Regions from separate parts of the Homo sapiens genome. Here regions 1, 3 and 4 are each linked to region 2. Evidence: promoter capture Hi-C in 16 types of primary human blood cells and fetal thymus (Javierre and others, 2016). All regions are on one chromosome and are shown on one strand. Each heading gives the region's core, a stretch centred on a gene start or on the middle of the fragment in contact. The rest is flanking DNA. Distances are from core to core; before and after follow the strand shown.

Region 1 (5,058 bases), core at 1,034-3,533, 3.1 Mb after region 2:
CAGTCTTCAGGGAAAATGTGCTTTAAATACCAAACAACAAACTTAGAAACAAACTTTGTCCCATAGCTTGTTTGTAAATCAAGAGCTTTTTGTTTCTAGTTTACATTTTGTGACAGTTCAAATATGATACCCGAGATACTGAATTTGCTTCATGATTGAAAAATGTGTTAATGTTTATTGAACCAGTTTTGAGAGCTTGGTATGCTCTTTTCCCTTGGATTGGACTTGAAATTTGGTCAGGAAGAGGTAGGACAAATGGGCAGGCAGGAAGCAGACAGATAGGAGAAAGAAAAGTTCCAATTTTGCACCTCGATTCAGACATTTCCTGCTTTTATTCTTGCTTTTGTAATTACTAGAAGGAATACTTAATATTATTTTAAGTAATTTTTAGTCCTTTATCTCCTAGAGACCTACAAACATTAGATGTTTTCTGTGAGACTATCCTGTGAGAATAGAGAAGAGGTTCTAAATGCTATTCATCTCTGTGAAATTTATTTGCTTTCAATCAGTAAGAAAAGTTAAGGATTTTAATTTAAAAAGGAAAAAGCACAACGAGAAAAGTGAAAATGATTCCCTCTGATCGCTAATGTCAACTATGGTCACATTTAATAATTCTTTTTCTGCACATTGAGTTCATTTTTCCTGCCTCTTCCTTTGAGTGCAAATTTTTTTCAGATGACATTATCCTAATTTGATACTAGCAACGTTAGCTAAAAACAATAATTGGATTTTTTAGGTAACAACTTCAATATGAACTAGCTTTGCCTTACTTCAGTTATATTCTTAGTACATTATATATGTTTTCCTTTTAACTACATTTCATTCTTATGTCTTCCTACCATGTAAAGGAAGCAGTATATTTTATGTAATCTAAATGATTAGTTCTAGTAAATATTACCATATTTTCAAAAATAACGATTTCTACATTTCCATCAGCAAGCCTTCTGTAAGGCAATTTTTAAACGTTTTAATTATAGAACATGCATTTTTTTAACCAAAGGACTGTCACAGATTTTAAGTTATAAAGGGATACCTAGCTATCATTTCTTTTATTGAATCTCCATCTTTTATTTGTAATAATTGTCCCTGATATTATGCTTATTTAATTTCATTGCTTTTAGAAAATGGCGGTTTTATTTTAATGATTTTTTTCTATCAAAACACTATTGGATAAAGCCTCCTTCCCAGGTTAATAACTCTTATTAAAAATTGTTTTCATGTGTTTTTTACAAAAGCAACTTAACGCAGAGACTTATGCCAGTATTATAGTCAATGTTAATAATGTCCTGGGAAACTATGAGGAAACGCTAAATGATCAAAGATCACATATTCGGAAATCTCTAGTGTGGAGACGATTCCACTGCCATATATACAGCAGCAACAACAAAACCGCAGACACCCAGTGAATTTTGATCACCTACTGTGTATCAGGTTTTTTTGTTTTCCCTTCAAAAACCACGATTTCATCGTATTCTCACGATAAATCCTCTGAGATAAAATGAAATTCTAGGATTAACCTCGATACCAGTAACACCTCCAACTCGCCAACAAGTTTTAAACCCCTAATTGGCACACTGCCTTGTGTAAGCAGTATTTCAATAAGCTTTGTGTAAGTTAAAAAAAAAAAAGTGGGAGAGCGTTTAGGGGTCCTTTGGTCCCCATAACAACTAAAAGTCTTGGTTCTTTCTAGAAGTACAACAGATGCAGTAACAGGGAACTAACTATTCAGTGCCTCTGACCAGATCCCGCAGCCTTTCCTAGTCTGCTCTCATCTGAGCAGGAGTCCTACTCAAAGGAACCTGGTTTTCTTTCCTTTACTGGATACTACAAGGCACAAATCGGTTACTTCTGTGGGTGTCGGATTACTTGTTTGTAAACTGAGAAACCTGGACAAAGTTTTCTCTAACTTTCCCTGAATCGTCTCTGGAGGTGAGAGGGAGTTCGAGGCTAAATCAGGAAAGATACCCCAACCATCCTCTTGTGGGTGGGGAGGAGCAGATCTGCTGGGTTAAACTTGGTGGTCAACAAACTGAAAGCAGCGACCCGCGGGCTGCGAGCGGAACAGCGGGAACGTTGGATCAGAGACCCAGAATCAGAGCCGCAGTCGAAGCCGCCCCCTTTTCCGGACGCCCCGTCCGCTCCTGGAACCGGGTTCACATCACGCCCTCAGCAACACGTTATGCGTTGGTGAACTACATTTCCCAGAATGCCTTTCAACCTTCTTCCCAGGGCTCCAATGAGCGCCGTGGTGACGCCATCATCCGGCGCGGTGTTTAGACTCCACTGATGTCGTGGCGCTTTAGGGGAAGAAGTTGGTGTTTCGCTGGGCCCTGGTACTGAAGACGCGGTCCGGGTCGCCCCTAGCTGTTTCCTACTCACCCAAAGCCCCGCACCCGCCTTTTCTCTCTCTCCTCTGGCAGGATGAGGCGTGCAGGCCTGGGTAAGAAGAGGGCTGAGGTTCGAAGTTCGGGGCCCTAGAACCGGGAGCGCTGGGGCGCGGGAGGAAATCGAACCTGTCTTATGTTCCTGGCATTTGGTCCAAAAAACAGGATGTCTAGAGGGGATCTTTGGGGTCCATGTCGAGTGGAAACACACCATTTGTCCCAGATCTTTGGAATTTCCTTAAGTTTGAGTCAGATTCAAGTTTGGATGGTAGGCTAGAGAAAGTAGTGGACTAGGGGTGGGTGTGTACAGGTGGCATCTCAGTGGTCGAGTGTTTTAGTGTTATTGACTGAGCGTGGTTATGGACGCTGCTATGTTTTCCAAAGCCCGACTCCGGTTTCTGTTTCCCTACTGGCCCTGGATCTTAGTTTCTTCAGAAGCGGAATTTGAAGAGTGGGTGGTTGCACCCAAAGCACGCTAGTAATGGTCGTTAATCTGGTAACAGTGAGTTACAAAGGTAAATGTATGTGTCATTATTGTTAAAGGTCCTGGAACTGGAACTTCTGGGTCAAAGGCGATTTCTTAATCTGAACCTTGTGCCACGGTTAAGGCAGTAGAACGTGGTTAAGGTTTGGCGACTTAACATTTGATCTTTACCTTTGGGGTTAGGAAACTGGCTCATCAGCAAGAATAAGTTAGACACAAGGAATTTTAATGGACCCTTATAGTAACGCACAGCTACTAGAACGGCATTTTCTGGTTCTGAAGCTTTCTCTTAGGACACGATTTTTTTTTTAAAGAAGACCCCGCTAAATTAGAGTGCAGTATACTTCAGAAAATAAATGAAACATTTGAAAAAAGATATTACCTTTCTCAGTCATTATAAGATTGAAAAAAGAAAAAAAAAATCCCCAAAGTGTCAGATATTTAAAGTCAGTGAAAGTTGCCAATAACCGTAGACTTGTTTATTGATCAATAAATTGTAGTATGAGAAAGTTTTTTGTTTTTTTAATGAAGTTTTTATGAATACTTAGATCATAGAAAATGGGGCCAGGTAAATTGAAGAGAAAAAAAAAAGAAATAATTTTGAGCAAGTTTAGCTTTATATGTCTAAATGTTTTTCTTGTTCATCATCCTTAATACCAAAAAAGATTTATTGTGTGCTTGAGTAAGCTCTAGGTATACAGTTGTTTGTTGCCCTGTTTGTGATCCCCAAAGCTTCCAGTCTAGGTGGGGAGTAGGAATATGTGCAAAGATAAATTGTAGTACAAAGTGTCGCTATACATCCAAATACCAGATAAGTTCTACATATAAGGGATGGTCTCAGAGATTTCAGAGATAGATCACTGTGTACTTTGTGGGGAAGATCTTTGTGTATTTGGTGGAGACATAGGAATTTGAAGTAGACCTTGAATAATGGAGAGTGGGGGAAGTGAGTTCCAGATAGGAGGAACTCAAAAGAAGTAAGGGATTATGATTAAGCCAGTTTGGGTGAAGTAGGGGATTCGGGATCACACTGTGGAGATCTTTGCATGCGAGGCCAAAGAGTTTGGATTTCATCAGTAGGCCCCTAGGCCCTTTTGAGTATTTTCCTGCTGCAGTGTGCCATGTTAAATTGCAGGAAAGTGACTTGAGTAATGGTTCTCAGCCCTGACTGTACATTAGAATCCCTTGGGAAGTTTTTAAAGTATTGTTACCTGGACCTCAGCTCAGCCAGTAAAATTAGAATTTCTCCAATTTAGAGCCCACTACCTTCTCCTTTTTTCCTTTTTTTTTCTTTCTTTTTTTTTTTTTTTTAAAAAAAAGCTCTTCTGTGATTGAGAGGAGAAGTAATTACCTAGGTAACTACTATTGCTATAATTTACATTGGTGTGAAGTGACAAAGGCTTTTGTTACACATTTTTTCTTTTCTTTTTTTTTAAAGTATGAATGCATATTGACCTGAAATTTTAAATTTGGGATCATAGTGAATCTGATACATATCCATAGGCAGAAGCTGCCACACTTCACATGAATCTCTAAATGGTTTTGTTAGCTTACTGATAGAACCTATCCAAAAAAGTAGCGTTTATCTAAATAAACAAAGGCTGAGGATGATCTTCAGTACTCACTAGCTTTTTTACAACTTTTCATAGCAGTACACCACCAGAAGAGAAGTGGCTTTGTTTGGAATAGCAATTCTAGCATTTTATTTGGTTTTTACTTTTGTCATTGTATTTGGGATGGGTCATAGTTTGAGGGAAGATCAACTCTTTAATAGGAATGTGCATTGATATATTTCTGGACGATAAATACAACAAGAATTTCACTTTGAATAAATGGAACAGCATGGAAGAACTCTAAAATTAAAATTAAGATAGGCAAAAGCAACTAAACAAAGGAAAGAAAAAATAGCAGTTAATTTATAATGAATTCCTTGGTGAAGTTGTCAAATGTTTGAATTCAACCAGTCAGTAATTACTTATTGGGTAAATGTTATATACTCAGAACCTCAGCCACACAAAATAAGAAGACATTCTTTCTTTAAGTATCTTGGCCCTTATTAAACTACAGTTTGCACAGAGTATCATTGGTTAACAGAGTAAGAATGCATTTTTAAATGGTGATTTTAATATTTGACTGAGCGGAAAAATATGCCCACTCCTTGAGTTCTTTTATAATAAAACATGTGGAGAG
Region 2 (5,627 bases), core at 3,048-5,547:
CAATCAGGCTTTTACTTCAATTATTCCTCTATATTGCTGCTAACATGATCTTTCTAGAATGTAATTTAAGTCATTTCCACCATTTACAAAGCCTTCAATGATTCAAAATAAAAACTTAAAACCCTTAGCAGAATATCCTGTCTCCTGCCACCTCTTTAGCTTTATTTCTTCCTCATCTTCTGCGTAAAACACTAAATTCCAAACACAACACTGCAGTTCCTGGAAAAAAGTCATACTGTTTCGGCCGGGCGCGGTGGCTCACGCCTGTAATCCCAGCATTTGGGAGGCCCAGGTGGGCGGATCATAAGGTCGGGAGATCAATACCATCCTGGCTAACACAGTGAAACCCCATCTCTACTAAAAATACAAAAAATTAGCTGGGCGCAGTGGTGGGCGCCTGTAGTCCCAGCTACTCAGGAGGCTGAGGCAGGAGAATGGCATGAACCTGGGAGGCGGAGTTTGCAGTAAGCTGAGATCACGCCACTGCACTCCAGCCTGGGCGATAGAGCGAAGACTCCATCTCAAAAACAAAAAAAAAAAAAACAAAAAAAAAAAACCAAAAAACCTCATACTGTTTCTTACCTCGATGCCTCTGCATATGTTATTCCCTCTTTCTAGAAGGTTCTCTTTTTGATATGGTAAATTTGACCTACTCAAGACTTAACCATCTTGTGTAGCTTTCAACTTCCTCCATTACTCCTTGATCCCACAGCATTTAATAGACACTCTTTCATACTATATTACAATTGTCTATCCTTTTCTACTAAACTTTGAACACTGTGAAAGTAAAATACATTTATTATTCATTTTTGTGTCTTAAATGCCTAGCACATTGTCTGGAAATAGTAAGTGATCAAAACTATCTGAAAAATGTTTCTGCCTTTTTCTAGAAACAAAACAGTTAAAAAATATTCCACAACAGACACAGAACAGGTACTTAAGAAAAACAACAGGAACTAGGCAAGAGACAACTCAGAAAAATACATGGGACAGAAAAAGAAAAATAAATGAAGTCTCTTCAGGTAGCTCCTGAGAGCACACTCTTCTGTGCTCTTTGTCTCATATTCTCTCACCAACATGTTTTATCTATTTAATCTTCAATGCTTATTCTGATTTCCTAGAAAATAAGTGGTAGGCACAGAGAGAAAAATAGAAAGCCTTAAACAACTATTCCTCAAAAATGAGCACAGTCAGAACTTTTAAAATGCCGTAGTAAGACCCCCGATCTATGGAGTCTCAATTTCACTTCTAATAGTTACCTCCTAAGAGTTGAGATTACAATGCACATTTTACAAACCAGTTATCGTACATTCTCCCTTCATAGATTCCCAAAAACTCTTCCTGAACTTAAATTTTTTCTCTTATGGTGAGAAATTACATAAATTCACTATTTACTCTGTAAACATGCTTTTACATTTCTATACTTAAAATACTTTCCTTCCACGTTGCCCCACTTGGTCCCTGAACAAAAACTTCCCCCAGCTGAATTCTCTCTACTATTATATTGCCAGTTTTCCAGGATCACAAATGAAGAGAATTAGAGAACTCTCTTCCAAATATGGGGCCTCTAGTGTTCTTGATCCCTTTCTTTTCTCCAGTGGCAACTATACCCAACGTTGCCCCTGATGTAAAACAAATTCAGAATCCATTCAAGTCCATAATTAAGTTTAGATGTGTGTGAGGGACTGGGATCGTGTAGACCAGACTCTACATATTAAGTTAGAAGTCCACAACAGTTACTCTTAGTTTGATGTAAACGTAACCATTAAGTTATATTCAAACAACAGGTGCCAAGTTTGTAATGAGCACTAACTGAAAAATAAAGGCATAAAAATCCATGTCATGTCTAGCAGTATCTAGTATAACATAATCATAAATTAGATATTTTGAAGAACAGGTGGGGGGGAAAAAGACTTGGAAGTCTTAAGTATATTACTCTCTGGTGATAAAACTTCTCTAGCCAGGTTTTTCTCCCCTCCAATCATTAGCATCTTCTCTAGCCCTACTCTTTCAAAAAGACCAGTTCTTCAAGTATCTTTCCTGGTAGGATCCAACCTACCACGTCTAACTCCCAGGCTTAGATTAAGCTGCCTTGTAACTGTGATAATTATGTTATACAAAGAGATTACTACGTTTAAATTTATCTTTACCCAGCTGCCAATTCATTAATTCCAGTAGATCAACAATGGTCGGGGAAGACAGGAAAACTGTTCTCTACAGACGCGTGTCAACTAATAAATTCAGAAGGAATGAGGGAAACAAAAGAGCCACCATTGGAACACAATGGCAAAATCCATCAATGAATGCTAAGACTAGTAATCATCTGAAAGCCTGAGAGTACCTACCCCCAAATATGTATTAATTTCAAAAGAGAAAATAGTAAGTTTACAGTAGAGACACCACGTGGATTATTACTTTAACCAAGTGATCACAGTTATCATCACCAGTAAGAAGTCATGTTAGTATCATGTGCCCTCTGACATTAAGTGTTGAGGCGAACACTTTGCCCATGTGGTATTCTTACTGAGATGTTATGAAATGCATAACATCAATTTAACCATGAGAAAACATCAGACAAACTCAAATTGAGATACATTCCACAAAGTAACAGACTAGTACTTTTCAAAAAAGTATCAAGGTAATGAAAGATAGGAAGACGGAGCAACTGTCACAGAATGGAGATTAAGGAAAAAGAATAACTAAATGCATTGTAGAATCCCCATTGGATCCTGGAACAGAATAAGGACATTAGTGAAAGGGCTGGCAAATTGTAAATAAAGTCTGTAGTTAACAGCATTGTAGCAATGTTAATTTCTTGTTTTTGATCACTGTACCCTGATTATGTAAGATGCTAACACAGGGGGAAACAGGATGTAGGGAACTCTCTACTGTCTTTCTAACTCTTCTGTATGTCTAAAATTATTCCAAGTTTTAAAAAGCTCAATCCCAGTTACCAAGCCTACTAGGTCAACTAACACATTTTTTATTTATGCAGTTCTTTTTTATACCCTCTCTCTCTCCTACAACCTATTATCAATTTTTTCTGAGTTGCTACTCTTTCCTACTTTTTCCCAAAGAGGCTTCCATGTGCTTACATTTTAAGACTTCTTAAAATAACCTTATTTCCTCCCAACAGAGAGCTACTCTCCTTCCTGTACGGCCACAAAATGACCTACCATAAAAGATGTAAAATACTTTAATACAGTATCTTATAGCTTCATAACAATTAGCAATACACAAGTGCTTGTAAATACATTTACATACGTAAATTTTGAGATGCATAAACACTTATTATTTTATAGATGAGAAAATAAGACTAGAAAAATTATGTGATCTGACACTTAAAATGTCAGAGACTGAATCTGAATCCAGTTCTTCAGGCTCCAAAACCAAATTACCTTATTAAAATAAAGTGCTCTGTGTCTGAAAAGCTTCAACTTCCCTGCTTCAGGCAAGCGAATTACATCAAATACACCATGATTTTCAAGAAAGTTCTAAATTTCCCGATTGTTCTAAATGTCGCTCTTAAAAGCTTCAATAATTATACAAAAAAGAATTCTGGAAGTCAGTGCAAAGTTTGTGTTCACCCTAACCATTCTTTTGATTTTTTTTTACAAAGCCGACTTCAGTCATCTCCCCTTCAACTATTTAGGCCGAAGAACCGCTTACCTCTATTTTCATATCAGCTCCAACTCATGCTTTCAAATATCTGAGCTGTCATTCCAATCTCTAATTCCATTCATTTATTTATATTTGCAAATGAAAACTAGGGGCAATCCTGCAGGGCCCCGAGCCCCACGAAATACTCTGAATATCTTTTTTCCTTTACTCAAAAAAAAAAAAAAAAAGTCAAACGACTTATTGCTAATGCATGTGTCTGTTTAATATTTAGCGCAATGGTGCAGGGCGAAGTAACAATGACTTGAGACCGGAGGAAACAACTTTCGCCTGACTTAACTGCCACCAGCATTTTTCTCCTTCACAGTTTGTAATCTCCAACCTTTTGTAATCTTTTTCATGTTACCTGATTTCTGTATCAGCCAAGTGAGAAAATTATTTAAACCCAACCAAAAGCGCTGAGATTAAATAATAAATTACGGAAATAAGCCTTTAAATTTGAAAACTAATAAGAGAACCATTAATTTATTAATGGGCGCTTACTAGGTGCAAAGGCACTTAAAAGGACAAAAAGCTCCTGAGGTTTTTGAGCACTTAACGACGACTTGCTCATTTTTGTGACCTCCTACCCTCACCCTTTGAGCACCTGGCATCTGCAGGAGCTCAAAAGTTGAACTGAATTGGGGACGCTGAAGTAACAGGATCTGCTCTAGTGAGAAACCCGTGGGAGAAACTTTGGAAAGTGTTACCTGAACAGCATTACGCTATTTCAAACAGAACAGGTTGCTGCTCTGTTTAACCCCGCATGGGGGACTGGAACTAGAAACCTGGACACCGAGGAACCCCAAAGGTCTTGGGCAAAGAGAAGGGAGCGTCACTTGCCTCCCATTCTTGCAAGAAACGCTGTGCCTCGTCAGAACCAACGGTCTTATGTCTCCTAAATTCGTCTTTCACGTACTGGTCGCCCAGGGATTTGAGGTCCGGGGGCAGAACACGGTGCAGCTGCAAGACGCGCTTGTACAATGCCCGGACTCGAGAAACGTGCCGCCCCGGCATAGCGCCCCACGCCGACCGCCGACTGCGCCTGCGCAGAGGGACGGCGCGTTCCCGCACTTCTGCGAACTTGCGTATTAGTGAACCGGAAGGCAGACGAAAGAGGGCGCGCGACCTCTATCCGGTTTGGTCCCTTGCACAATCAGGTCCTCCCGGAAACCCAAGCTCCGCTGCGGGCGGAAAACGGGTCGGTCCTTCTCTAGGAGGGGCGTGGCCCTCGTGGAGTCGCGCCTGCGCCTCGTCGTGGCTTCTTCTGGCCTGCGTCCTGACGACACAGGCCTTGAAAGAGAGAGGTCTGTGGTGGGCCGTTGTCATTTCTCAGTCCCACTCCACTGTCTTTTTCATTCAACTTCGTTTCTGTCCTCCTACCAAAGGCCTGAGAAAAGCTTCGTTAAGATCGGGCTCCTCCGGGATTCCTTCCATGGTTCCCAACCCATTTGAGGCATTTAGAGTATTACTGCACCCTGCTTTAGGGATCAGAGTGAGATTAATCTCGCCATCCACTAGCTCACCAACCCACGCTCTTTGCACAGCGCTGTTCTCCCAATTTATACTCTGGGCATGGGCTCTTCCTTGCAAACAACCCAAGTGAGCCCAGAGCTGGCGGACTCCTTAGCCAAAGTCAAGTTGGCTGCTGAAGGATCCTTGGGAAGAGTTTTAAACGTATTGTTTCCAGGACCACGACCCTGGAGATTCTGGTTAAATAGTCTAGGATAATAAGAACGAGGAATCTAGAAATTTACAAAGCTCTATCTTTTGCGAAGGTAATACTGAGAGTAGAACTGGTTTCCAAAGCTGGCAGCTCCTTGTGTTGTCCTTTCCTGTCACACGTTTGGTTCTTCAGCAAATCCTGATGGCGTCACCAACAAAAATGCAGAAATCAACCATTTCGCCCCATGTACTCTACCACAATCTCTCTCCACTGGATATTGTGTTAGCTTCCATATCTGTGTTCA
Region 3 (5,630 bases), core at 1,127-3,626, 4.9 Mb after region 2:
TTGGCACAGTTTCAGACTCCTTACATATTGAAAACTCAAAATTCTCGGTGTAGTGGTCAAGGGAACAGTGAAATAGGAAAATATAGTTCTATCTTCCCCATCCTACCCCAAGGAAAAGAGAATCAACAACATTTTTTCTAAGACTTCTCCAAGATAGCGCCCATCACCTCACTATAGCACCCTACTCTTATTCAGAAACTGAACAATTTTACAGAAAGCAAAAGCCACACCCTTAATAATACACTCAACTCTGCACAGTGCTTGGCTTCTGTGCTAAGTACATTTCCAGAGACAGAGTTGGAGCTACATCTCCTGAGCCTACTTCAAATTAAAATCTGTGAACAGTGAGAAGTTACAAATCAGATAATAGCCCAAAATCAACTGCTGAAAGGAGGTTGGGGGGAAAAGTCATTAAACACATCCATCTTTCTTAATGAAATGACAATGTTTTTCAGCAACACAAAACACCAAAGCTACCAGTCTACACTACACAGTAGTTTGCAGAATGACAACCTGCAGTACACAGTAAAATTATTCTTAAATTATCGTTTGCTTCCTATGGTGCTCTGAAAAGTAGCAAATGCATAAAGTCATATAAGAGCTATTGTCCAATCACTGACAGCATTAAAATTATTTTTAAATCTAATTTCTGGAAAGTTCTGCAGGAGCAGTTTGAAAAGCAAATCAAATTCTAATGAGAAAAAACGCCTAGTTCAAAAATCTGAAAATATACTTTGAAGACATTCACAGTTTAAGCAGCAGGAGGGTCATAGGCACCAAGGTGTGTAACATCTGTGAGTGGCTGATACAAAAAAAGATTTCTCTGGAATTAATGATTGAAAATAATTATCAAATACAATCTAATATGATCTTTAAACGTCTGTCTCAAAAGCAACAAAGCAAAAGCTTGTAACAAAGCAAAACCTTCCAATACACAGATTTTTACACCTTACACATACCCACATACTTCACAAATTAAGAACTAGATGAAAATTAGAACACTAAAATTTAAAGGTATCTAAAATACACTATTTGAAACAGCAGACTCTTATCTTTACATTTATCTGTCAGATCTACCAGTAAAGCTCTTCTGAAATGGTCATTCCAATACAAGATTGTTCGATATGCCATTCCGTGTGAATAGAGCTTGGGAGACTAATTCTCAAAATCTCCTCAGGAGATGCTTTATTACAGCTCTAGTTTCAATTTCCTGCGACTCAAACAGCTACGTACAGAAAAACAGCTCATACATACGGAGAAGAATAAGAATACAGGGGAGCGCTCCATTCTTTTGTTTTGGTGGCAGAAGCTGCAAAAATAAAGGTTCACTGGAGCCATCTGCACCTATCCCCACCCATCACAGCCCTGCAGAGCACTTTTACCCATCCGCTTCTCAAGACTCTCTCTAGCCCCCGAGGTCGGCAGAACCCGTGGCTTTCCACGTCTCAAAGGATGGGGGTGGGGGGGAGGCTGCGAGGAAGGACACAGATCCTTTGAGGACAGAGGGACAAGGAGATGCATCCAGATGGGGAGGATGGGACGCGTCACGGAGACCCGGAGGCTTGCAAATTCGCTGGGAGAAAAGCCCTGTAGGGCAGAGAATGCTGCCTGTTCAGGGATGGGGACAGACAGAACAACAATGCTCCAAAACAGGCGACAGACACACTCCTAGTAGATCCGGGAGGGTGTGAAGTAGGTAGCTCTGAACTCGGAGCCACAAATGGGTAGAGGCAGCCTCAAACACATCTGTACCGCGAAGCTGAGACTTACGGTTACTTCTCTCGCTGAGGGTAAGGGTCGGTGGACCCAGCAACTCCGCAGTTCCGCCTCCGCCGCCCCTGCCTCTACAGCCGAGCTGGTGACCTCAGGTACCCAGCCCGCCCCACCCACCCGGACGGTTGCCCCTTCCTCGCCGGCCCGGGTGCACCCGCCAGGCGGAGGCTGATGTGGCCGAGGGTGCGCACTGGCGGCCCGCGGGAAGCGCTGCGTGAGCCGAAGGCGCCCGCGGCGAGGCTCAGACTGGGTGGGCGCCCCCCATCCCTCTCCGGCCGCTGCGCCGCCTCACTCGGGGGAGGGGAAGAGGGGGCGGTGGCTCTTGCCTCCGCCTCGCGGTCAAGCCCGGCTCATGTTCCAGCCTTGCGCGCTCGCAGCCCCGGCCGCCCTCTTCCCCTCCCCCGCCTCCGGCTCCGGCTCCGGCTCAGCCGCTGGCACCCCCACCGCCACCACCCTAGTCTCCTAGTCGCCTGCCACCAGCCCCTGAGAGACTGCAGGTCCAGTGAAAAGGAGCAGGAACGGCAGCAGCCCGGCCGCCGACCCGGAAGCTCTTTCACCGCCAACCGCGAGGCTGCAAAGGGTGTGAACCCGGAAGCGATTTCATAGCCACGGTAACGGCGGGGTGGAAAGCTAAGGCCTTTGAAGACCTGGGACCCCGTAGTTTCGGGAGAGGGTGAGGGGTGAATGGTGCTGAGGTGCGAGGAGAGGGAAGGACAGTAAAGAGCAGGTGGGCAGGAGGGTCTCCGACTCCAGAGACCTGAGCTTTTGGGGCGCGGGTGGGAGCGCGGGGGAACCCTCAAGACGGCTTTCTTTTGGCGACTGAGGGTTTTTCTGCCACAGGAAGCTGGGCCGGGCTGCTGTGCCTGGGAGGAGGGAAGGAGGAATGAGAAAGCGGTGACGGTCCCTGCCCCCCCTCGCCAGGTGACTGTCCCACCCATTTAGTTGAATGTAGCGGCCAGAGAGGCACTCGCGGCAGCCCGTACGGGTGGGACCTCTCGGTGTCCTTCGGGAAACAGGAGGAGCAAGTTCGACTCCAGCGAGGGAAAACGGAGGTGGGAGACTGAACCATCTCCACATCTAGTTGCCCCAGGCAAGGAGTTTATTTTTCACATGTAGTTACAGAGAAACCATAGCCACTTTTTGGGTGGAAACTCTTTGAGCAAAGAGGCTTACGTTTTTCCCCAGTAGTGGACGTTGACGGGTGGTGGCGCAGGAAAAAACCTCCCAGGCAGAGTGATTACGTATTTTTGTCATTGCAGGGAAAGGGATTCACAGCTTGTCATTCTAACTCACTTCTCCCCCTGTAACTCACTTCTCGCCTCTACACTTTTCTCCACCTTTTAAGGTTTTTGGCTTTCATCGCTTTTTCTACATGTTTTTAGCCTCACCAGAAGTCTTTCATCTCGGTGGTCCAACTCAGGATCTCAGCCTCATTATTTTCTTACCCTTCTGGAGTGCATATGTGCCTTTACAGTTTCTGTTTGCAAACGCTGTCTAGCATACTAAGAGGATGTTAGCAAACCTGTTCCATGGACACTAAATGGCAGTTGTACATCTCCCCTCATCAGTCATAGTGACAACCAGAAATGCCCTCCATATTTTCCAGTGATCCCAGGTAGGTGCCACCCCCCTAATTAAGGACCACTTCCACTGCTTTATTTATAAGATCTTATTACTTAGGGAGCATATTATCATTTGTGCCTAACATTTTCCAGAATGGAGTGAGCCATATAACAAAATGCCACGTTTCCTGTACTTATTCACTTGAACCCTCATCTCAGACTCAGTCTAAACATATTGCAAACTCTAGTTATACCTTTCTTGTATTTTAGTTCAAGCTACTCATTTTCTATCAGTTTGTCTGTGTTTCTCCCTTAGCAGTTTTACCTTCCTATGTTAGTTACTTTTGTTATTTTCCTGTTAAGCCTTTGTTTCCTTCTTTCATGTCACTGGAAGAATGTAGATTTTAAGTAGTCAAGTACGAATAGTTCTTGAAAATGAATTTTAAGAATATTTTGGGGATATGGTAAAAAAGTATTTGGTTTAAGAAAACAAAATACTGTTACTGTCATAGTTATGTCTTTTTAAAATCACATTTGTTTACCTTTTAAAAGTTCAGGCTTCTGTGCAGTATTAATTAAATATTCTAGAGAAGTGATGAGTATTGACAAAGTACTTTGCTAGTAAATGTTTTCTTAACATGAGTTGACCAAGACAGGAATTGATTTGCTTTAAATTGTCTTTAGAAAAGTAAGAGTTACTTGATTTTTCTTTTAGGTCCTTAATAGATAAAATGGTTTCTGTAATTGTGCCCATATATCATACAGTGTATTCACAATACAATGTCTTTCTTTTTGGGGCTTGCAGTCTTCAATGCGTCTGTCTCATAATTTGTAAACGTTTATTATCTTGAAGTCATTGTTAATCTGTGGTGAAAAGTAATTGCTAAATAGAAATTCTGAGAAGAAAAAGGCCTCATCCTTTTCACATGATGTAGGAAGGTCTGTTGCATGAGGTGGGTTTTAAGAATGATTTTATACAAAAAATTGAACTGAAAAAAATTTCATGAAGTATATAATGATAAAGAATGATAACGTCCTCAAAACCTTTCACACAATGAAATGTCTCTATCCTAATGTGTCACTGTATTTTTTTCTAGTGAAATATCTGTAGGGTTTTTTTGGATCTAAATCAATGGAAAGTTTTAGAATTTAAAATAAATTTGAAAAGTATTTAAATTATTTTATTTAAAATTTTTGTACAATAATTTTAATGGTTGTTTTAATCTTAGGCTAAAGTTTATGTAAAATGCCAAAAGCTACTGTATTTTAAAAGAATTTCTTCTTAGGGTAATTTTACAATCATAAGGCACTTTTTAATTATTATTTAGGGAAGTGAATTAAAAGTTACAGAGTGACATTTTCAGTTGCAGTGGAAGAAACAGGATAAATTACTCTATCGCCTCTCAAATAACATTCAAAACCCTTTCTTGAAAATGGTCTATCTTGAGAGTTGCAGCAGTAGGGAACTCATTAAATATGAACAGGTAATTTTAATGCCTAATGGTTTTTAAAAAACTGAAGAAAGTTCATCTCAACATAGCTGGGAAAGAAACTCTTTAATGTTCTTTTAGAAATTTACTGACAAATAAATGGGGAGAAGCTTTTTCAAAAAAAGATAAAAAATAATCAGTACAGAAAGATGCACTTTAGTGTAGCCATGAAAGAAATTTATTCAATGAAGAAAACTATTATACAACTAAGATTGTGGTTGAAATTCAGTCACTTGTTGGAAATTGCGCAATGGAGACTTAAGATTTAGTGGGACAAAGTATATGCATAACACACACGCACACACACACACAGTGAATATATTTGGAATAAAAAATTTGGATTATTGACAGGTGTGGTGGCTCACGCCTGTAATCCGAGCACTTTGGGAGGCCGAGGCAGGTGGATCACTTGAGGTCAGGAGTTTGAGACCAGCCTGGCCAACATGGTAAAACTCCATCTCTACTAAAAGACACAAAAATTAGCCGAGCATGGTGGCACACGCCTGTTAATTCTGGCTACTCAGGAGGCTGAGGCAGGAGGGAGAATCGCCTGAACCCGGGAGGCGAGGGTTGCATTGAGGCGAGATTGTCACTGCACTCTAGCCTAAGTGACAGAGCGAGACTCTGTCTAAAACAAAACAAAACAAAAATTTGGATTATCAAGGAAATTGATAAGGGAAATGGAAAAGATTCTTAAATCACCTTCAGAAAGCTTTTATCAACTGACCAAATAGTTTTGGTTCTGTGATAAGCAACTCCAAAGAAAATTACATACTACGCTTTAGCTCATCCAAATGTCTGATAT
Region 4 (5,206 bases), core at 1,022-3,521, 4.6 Mb after region 2:
CTCCATCACCCAGGATGGAGTGTAGTGGCCCATAAGACTCACTGCAACCTCCACCTCCTGGGCTCAACTGATTCTCCTACCTCGGCCTCCCAAGTAGCTGGAACTACAGGAATGCACCAACACACCCAGCTTGATTTTTGTATTTTTACAAAATACAAAATACTGGCCATGTTGGCCAGTCTGGTCTCGAACTCCTGGGCTCAAGCAATCTGCCTACCTTGGCCTTCCAAAGTGCTGGGATCAAATCCAACTTTTTCTTTTTTTTTTTTTGAGACAGTCTCACTCTTGCCCAGGCTGGAGTGCAATGGCATGATCTTGGCTCACTGCAACCTCCACTTTCTGGGTTCAAGTGATACTTGTGCCTCAGCCTCCCCAGGAGCTGGGATTAAAGGTTTGCACCAACACAGCCGGCTAATTTTTGTATTTAGTAGAGTGAGGGTTTCACCATGTTGGCCAGACTGGTCTTGAACTCCTGACCTCAGGTGATCCACCTACCTCGACCTCCCAAAGTGCTGGGATTACAGGTGTGAGCCACGTGCCTGGCGTCAAACCAGAATTTTTTTTTTTTTTTGAGACAGAGCCTTGCTCTGTCATCTAGGCTGGAGGGCAGTGGCATGATCTCTGCTCACTGCAATCTCCACCTCCCAGGTTCAAGCAATTCCCATGCCTCAGCCACCTGAGTAGCTGGGACTACAGGTCCGCACCACCACACCCGGCTAATTTTTGTATTTTTAGTAGAGGAGGGGTTTCCATCATGTTGGCCAGGCTTGTCTTGAACCCCTGACCTCAAGTGATCTGCCTGCCTCGGTCTCCCAAAGTGCTGGGATTACAGGCGTGAGTCACCACGCCCAGGCTTCAAACCCAAATTTTTTTTTTTTTTTTTTTTTTGAGGCAGAGCTTCCCTCTTGTTGCCCTGTCTGGAGTGCAATGGCGCAATCTCGGCTCACTGCAACCTCTGCCTCCCGGTTTCAAGCGATTCTCCTGCCTCAGCCTCCCGAGTAGCTGGGATTACAGGCCTGCGCCACTAGACCCAGCTAATTTTGTATTTTTAGTAGAGAGGGGGGTTTCACCATGTTGGCCAGGCTGGTCTCAAACTCCTGACCTCGTGATCCGCCCACCTCGGTCTCCCAGAGTGCTGGGATTGCAGGCGTGAGCCACCGTGCCTGGCCAAACCCAACTTCTACTCTACCAAGCTACAGGACATTAAATTGTTAAGCATGGGAATGATGTGATGGATACAGTGTTTCAGTAAAGTTAACTTTTAAAAAGGCTGGAGGAAGATATGCTAGATTACGTTTTGGGGTAATTCAGTTATGAATGAGGGAAACTTGGGGCCAAAATGACAGAAATATGAATGGAAGAAATGAGGAAATGAGTCATTTCTTAACTTGCACATTACCTTGCACTTTGTAAGTTCATAAATTTAATAAGATAAACTTCAGTAAAGTCTTCTGCTGGGTATTCATCTAGAGCATTGTACTGTTCAATTGCACCATATAAAGCGAATCGCTCAACTAATTCCTTCATGACTCCCACAGCAGGAACTCCTTGTATTAATAAGTACTGAGATTCCAAATTGATTGTATATACCTGAAAGAAATGCAGAGTTATTAAACGTATTTCGCAAATAAGCCTAGGACGAATCTGCCTCTATTTTTTTTTAAAGAGAACTTTGAAAACAAGAAATAATCTGTTCAACCCAGTCAGCAAAAGAACACAAAATGAAATTTCTGCCATTCCTTCTGCATAAAGAATAACAGTCCATGTGAGAGGCTACCTAAGGCATATAACAGACTACCTTCAGTCGACATTTTTTTCCAGAAATTGAGTCGGTAGAAGTCACTGGGAACAATCACTCAACGAATATTCACTGAGTGCTTACCTGTGCCAAGTAGTACTGTAAACACAGAAGATCCAATGACTAAAACCAAGGCCTATTCTCGTGGAGTTGATGTTCTAATACTTGACCAAAGGCGTCGTGAGAATCTTTGGTAACTGACCGAGGGTTCTTCACGCCAGCTCTAACGAGAGACAGATCTGACGGAAGCCTTGTCGTGCCTTTATTTCCGTAGGCTGGTCATATGGCGCTAGCACTCACATAAAGCTACCGAGGAGAGCGAATGAAACCAAAATCACTTTACCTTCACAGCACGAGGCCGTCGTCCCTCTCGATATTTGGCCCGTGTGTCGCATACCGCCCTCTGGACGTGGTGATCAAATAAACTCCCTAGCTCCCCGCCGCTCGACGCCATCTTGCCTACTTTGATCCTCGCAGGGAGGACAACATCCGCCCTACTGAGCTCCCTTTTATCCAATAAGAGAGCGGGATGAGTTAAGGAGTGCCAGGATTGGCTGGAGAATCGACAGCGTCGGCCATCGTTTCCTGCGTGCGAAGATTTGATGAACGAGGTGCCGCCCCCGAGCGGCTCGGCGGAGAGGCGCGGTGGGTGACAGAAGCTTTCTTGTCCCACCCACTACAGGCTTACGGCAGGATGCGCAGCGGGGAGAGGGGGCGGGGCCGCAGGGGGCGGGGCCGATCGATCTCCTCCGGCTCCGACGTCCTCGGCCTGCCGGGTCCCGGGTCCTTTGCGGCGCTAGGGTGGGCGAACCCAGAGCGACGCTCCGGGACGATGTGGGGCAGCGATCGCCTGGCGGGTGCTGGGGGAGGCGGGGCGGCAGTGACTGTGGCCTTCACCAACGCTCGCGACTGCTTCCTCCACCTGCCGCGGCGTCTCGTGGCCCAGCTGCATCTGCTGCAGGTAACCTGCCGGCCCCGAGCCACCTGATCTTCAGCCTGGGGTCGGACGAGGCCGAAGCCTCTCAGGGACGCGGCGGGACACCGGCTGCCACCCGGGCGCCGCCGAAGCGCGCAGAGATCAGGGTCCCTCGACGGCAGGGCCCTTCTGGGTAGTCTCTGGATCCCACAAGTCCAGTGCAGCCCTGGGCTCGTCTTATCCCAGGTCTTTTCACTTGGTGAAACTGAACCTAGAAACGTCCTAATATTCTACCACTGTTTTTATAAATATTCCTTATTCCAGGCTGGAAAAGCTCCTGAGAAGTGGTTTGTTTTTATTATTTTAAAAGGTGTTTTCCTTGCCAGCCATTTCCAGTTAACCTGCGCTGCTGCCGTCCGGGCCGCGAGAGCGGGACGCAGAGTTGTTGGCGGAGCCCCTGTCGGTTCCCGGGGACTAAGCACCGCGTCCCATGAGCGGGAAAGGTTAATACAATGATGGTTCTGCCCTGCGTCGCTGACGCGGAACACAGCTGTAGTGTGTTAGGAACACATAACGTAGTTAAGATCACTTGAAGCTCTGCGATCAGTCGCCCTTCTGGACGTTGTGGTTAGGATGTTTCACAGTTCTAACCACTGGTGGAGATACAGCGTCCATATTTTCATAATTAAAAATAGAGGCACATGGTCTCACGAGTTTGAGTGTACTTATGGGGGCAAAAGGACGGCGTATTTGAAATCCTCATAAATCCTGGATGCATGGTACCCACCAGTGGCTAATCTATGCAATGAATAGAGTTTGCAATAATTTCAAGCATCCCTTCTTTCCACTTGAGTTACTTCCCCATACCTAGGGGAAGATATTTTTGGTCCACTGAAAACATGAGTTCAGCAGAATCCTCCTATCATCGTCGTTATTATTTTTTACCACTAAGTAGACAATCTTTTGGTTTTTGATGGGCTTTATGGCTAGAGACAAATCAGTCACTGTCACCAAGTTCCAGGTAGAAGTTGGTTCAGTGCTCTGTCAGCTTCGATGGGATTTTTCAACATGTTTTCAAATCTGCACTTAATAGTAGGAATGCTTTCTTACAGTAACTCTAATTTGATCCTAAGATGTAGTTGTTACCTTACATTCATCACTGTTTAAGAATTTAGTGGTCTTGATCTTTGTTTTAAATTTTGAGCCTTCGGGAAGTACTTATAAGAATTAATTCATGCATATCTTTTTGAAATGTAAATGTCTTTAGCCCTGGAACAAATTGCTGTTTCTGTTCAGCCCATATTAGCAGAATAGGTCAACTTTACTTTCTAATTATCAATGTAATAAGTTTATTACTTTATAGATTCCATAAATCTATACATTTATTCCTCGATGAATTATATAAATTTATAGAATTTATGTTTTATAGAAAATTTGGAAAGCATGGAAAATTATTAACAAGAAAATAAGTTACCCATAATCCCAGAACTTAGAGGTGACTAATGTTGACAGTTTGGATCAAATCTTCCAGTTTTGTTTCTAATCTTTATTTTTAACATAAATGAGGTCCTGTATACACACGTACAGTTTTGTGTCCTGGTGTTTTTATTTAATGTTATTATGAGTGTTTTATTTTGTTAAAAGGTCATCATTTTAAGTTGTTAATTAGTATTCTAGCACAAATTTGCCATAATTTATTTAATTGTTTACTATGATTGACCATTTAGATTGTACTTAATTTTTAGGCATTAGAAGTGATAAACTATATTTTAATCAGACGTTGAAAATAACACATCTTTGTTTAGAAAACATCATTTTATTTCTGGTTGTCTAGGATAGATTCCCAGAATTCTTGGGTTAGAGGCCATAGATAATTATGAAAGCAGAAAGATTCACAAGTTGGGAGTTAATACTTGAATTACTTTATTTGGGGTGAAGCATTGAGTGCATAATACAGATCATGCAGTAATGGGAAGAAGGGTTGGAACAATGGTTTTCTGGCCTATGTCAGACTTACCTTGAAGCTTTTAAGAATACAGATGTTCTGATCAACCCTCAGACCTATTAAATCAGACCTAAAATCTTAGGGAATAGGCTTTAGGCATCTCTAATTTTAAAAAATTTATTCAGGCTACTTGGATGCACAAAAGAGTTGAGACCTACTGTCCTAGAATCATAGAATTTTAATGACGATAGAGACCTTAAGCATCTAGGTCGTTTCTGTACTTTTACATGTAAGGAAACTGGCATTCCTAGGCCAGTACCATTGCCATGCAGCTAATTTGCCCTCTTGTCTATAGCTCACTCTGCATCACCCAACCTACCGTTCTCACTGTTTCTTCTATAACCAATCTCCTTCCCACTTCTGTTCTCTTACTCATGCCATTCTTCCCTCAGTCATTTTTCTTCCTTCCATACAAATTCCATGTCTTTAAAAAGGAATAATCCTACCTCCTCCACATAGCTTTCCAATTCTCTGTTGCCCACATTTG

What was found. The method cuts DNA at HindIII sites, captures the fragments that hold promoters and counts their contacts. A CHiCAGO score of 5 or more calls a contact.
Region 1: the fragment with the promoter of BET1 here is called in contact with a fragment that was not itself captured in region 2 in 5 of 17 cell types (naive CD4 T cells, total CD8 T cells, total CD4 T cells and 2 more); the score reaches 12.0 in naive CD4 T cells.
Region 3: a contact is called between the fragment with the promoter of KRIT1 here and a fragment that was not itself captured in region 2, in 1 of 17 cell types (total CD8 T cells). The highest score is 5.2, in total CD8 T cells.
Region 4: the fragment with the promoter of RBM48 here is called in contact with a fragment that was not itself captured in region 2 in 1 of 17 cell types (naive B cells); the score reaches 7.8 in naive B cells.

What each region holds. Positions count from the first base shown.
Region 1 is chr7:94,001,580-94,006,637 of GRCh38, reverse strand. BET1 (Bet1 golgi vesicular membrane trafficking protein) reads left to right here and starts at 2,283. Exons shown (of 4, transcript NM_005868.6): 1 at 2,283-2,440. The coding sequence starts at 2,422. RefSeq lists enhancers at 1,717-2,346, 2,357-2,406, 1,861-2,466, 2,467-3,073. The HindIII fragment of the contact is 1,547 bases long and covers 1,606-3,152 here.
Region 2 is chr7:97,116,771-97,122,397 of GRCh38, reverse strand. SDHAF3 (succinate dehydrogenase complex assembly factor 3) reads right to left here and starts at 4,700. Exons shown (of 2, transcript NM_020186.3): 1 at 4,501-4,700. The coding sequence starts at 4,674. RefSeq lists enhancers at 4,523-4,612, 4,963-5,042. The HindIII fragment of the contact is 1,525 bases long and covers 3,535-5,059 here.
Region 3 is chr7:92,242,660-92,248,289 of GRCh38, reverse strand. It overlaps KRIT1 (KRIT1 ankyrin repeat containing), which reads left to right and starts at 2,376. Exons shown (of 19, transcript NM_194454.3): 1 at 2,376-2,500; 2 at 3,119-3,388; 3 at 4,141-4,288. ANKIB1 (ankyrin repeat and IBR domain containing 1) reads right to left here and starts at 2,316. Exons shown (of 20, transcript NM_019004.2): 1 at 1,771-2,316. RefSeq lists a silencer at 1,881-2,270 and an enhancer at 2,201-2,495. The HindIII fragment of the contact is 4,029 bases long and covers 909-4,937 here.
Region 4 is chr7:92,525,860-92,531,065 of GRCh38, reverse strand. It overlaps RBM48 (RNA binding motif protein 48), which reads right to left and starts at 2,271. Exons shown (of 5, transcript NM_032120.4): 1 at 2,142-2,271; 2 at 1,400-1,590. The coding sequence starts at 2,252. It overlaps PEX1 (peroxisomal biogenesis factor 1), which reads left to right and starts at 2,546. Exons shown (of 24, transcript NM_000466.3): 1 at 2,546-2,759. The coding sequence starts at 2,631. RefSeq lists enhancers at 1,968-2,347, 2,948-3,127 and a silencer at 2,488-2,717. The HindIII fragment of the contact is 3,452 bases long and covers 1-2,459 here.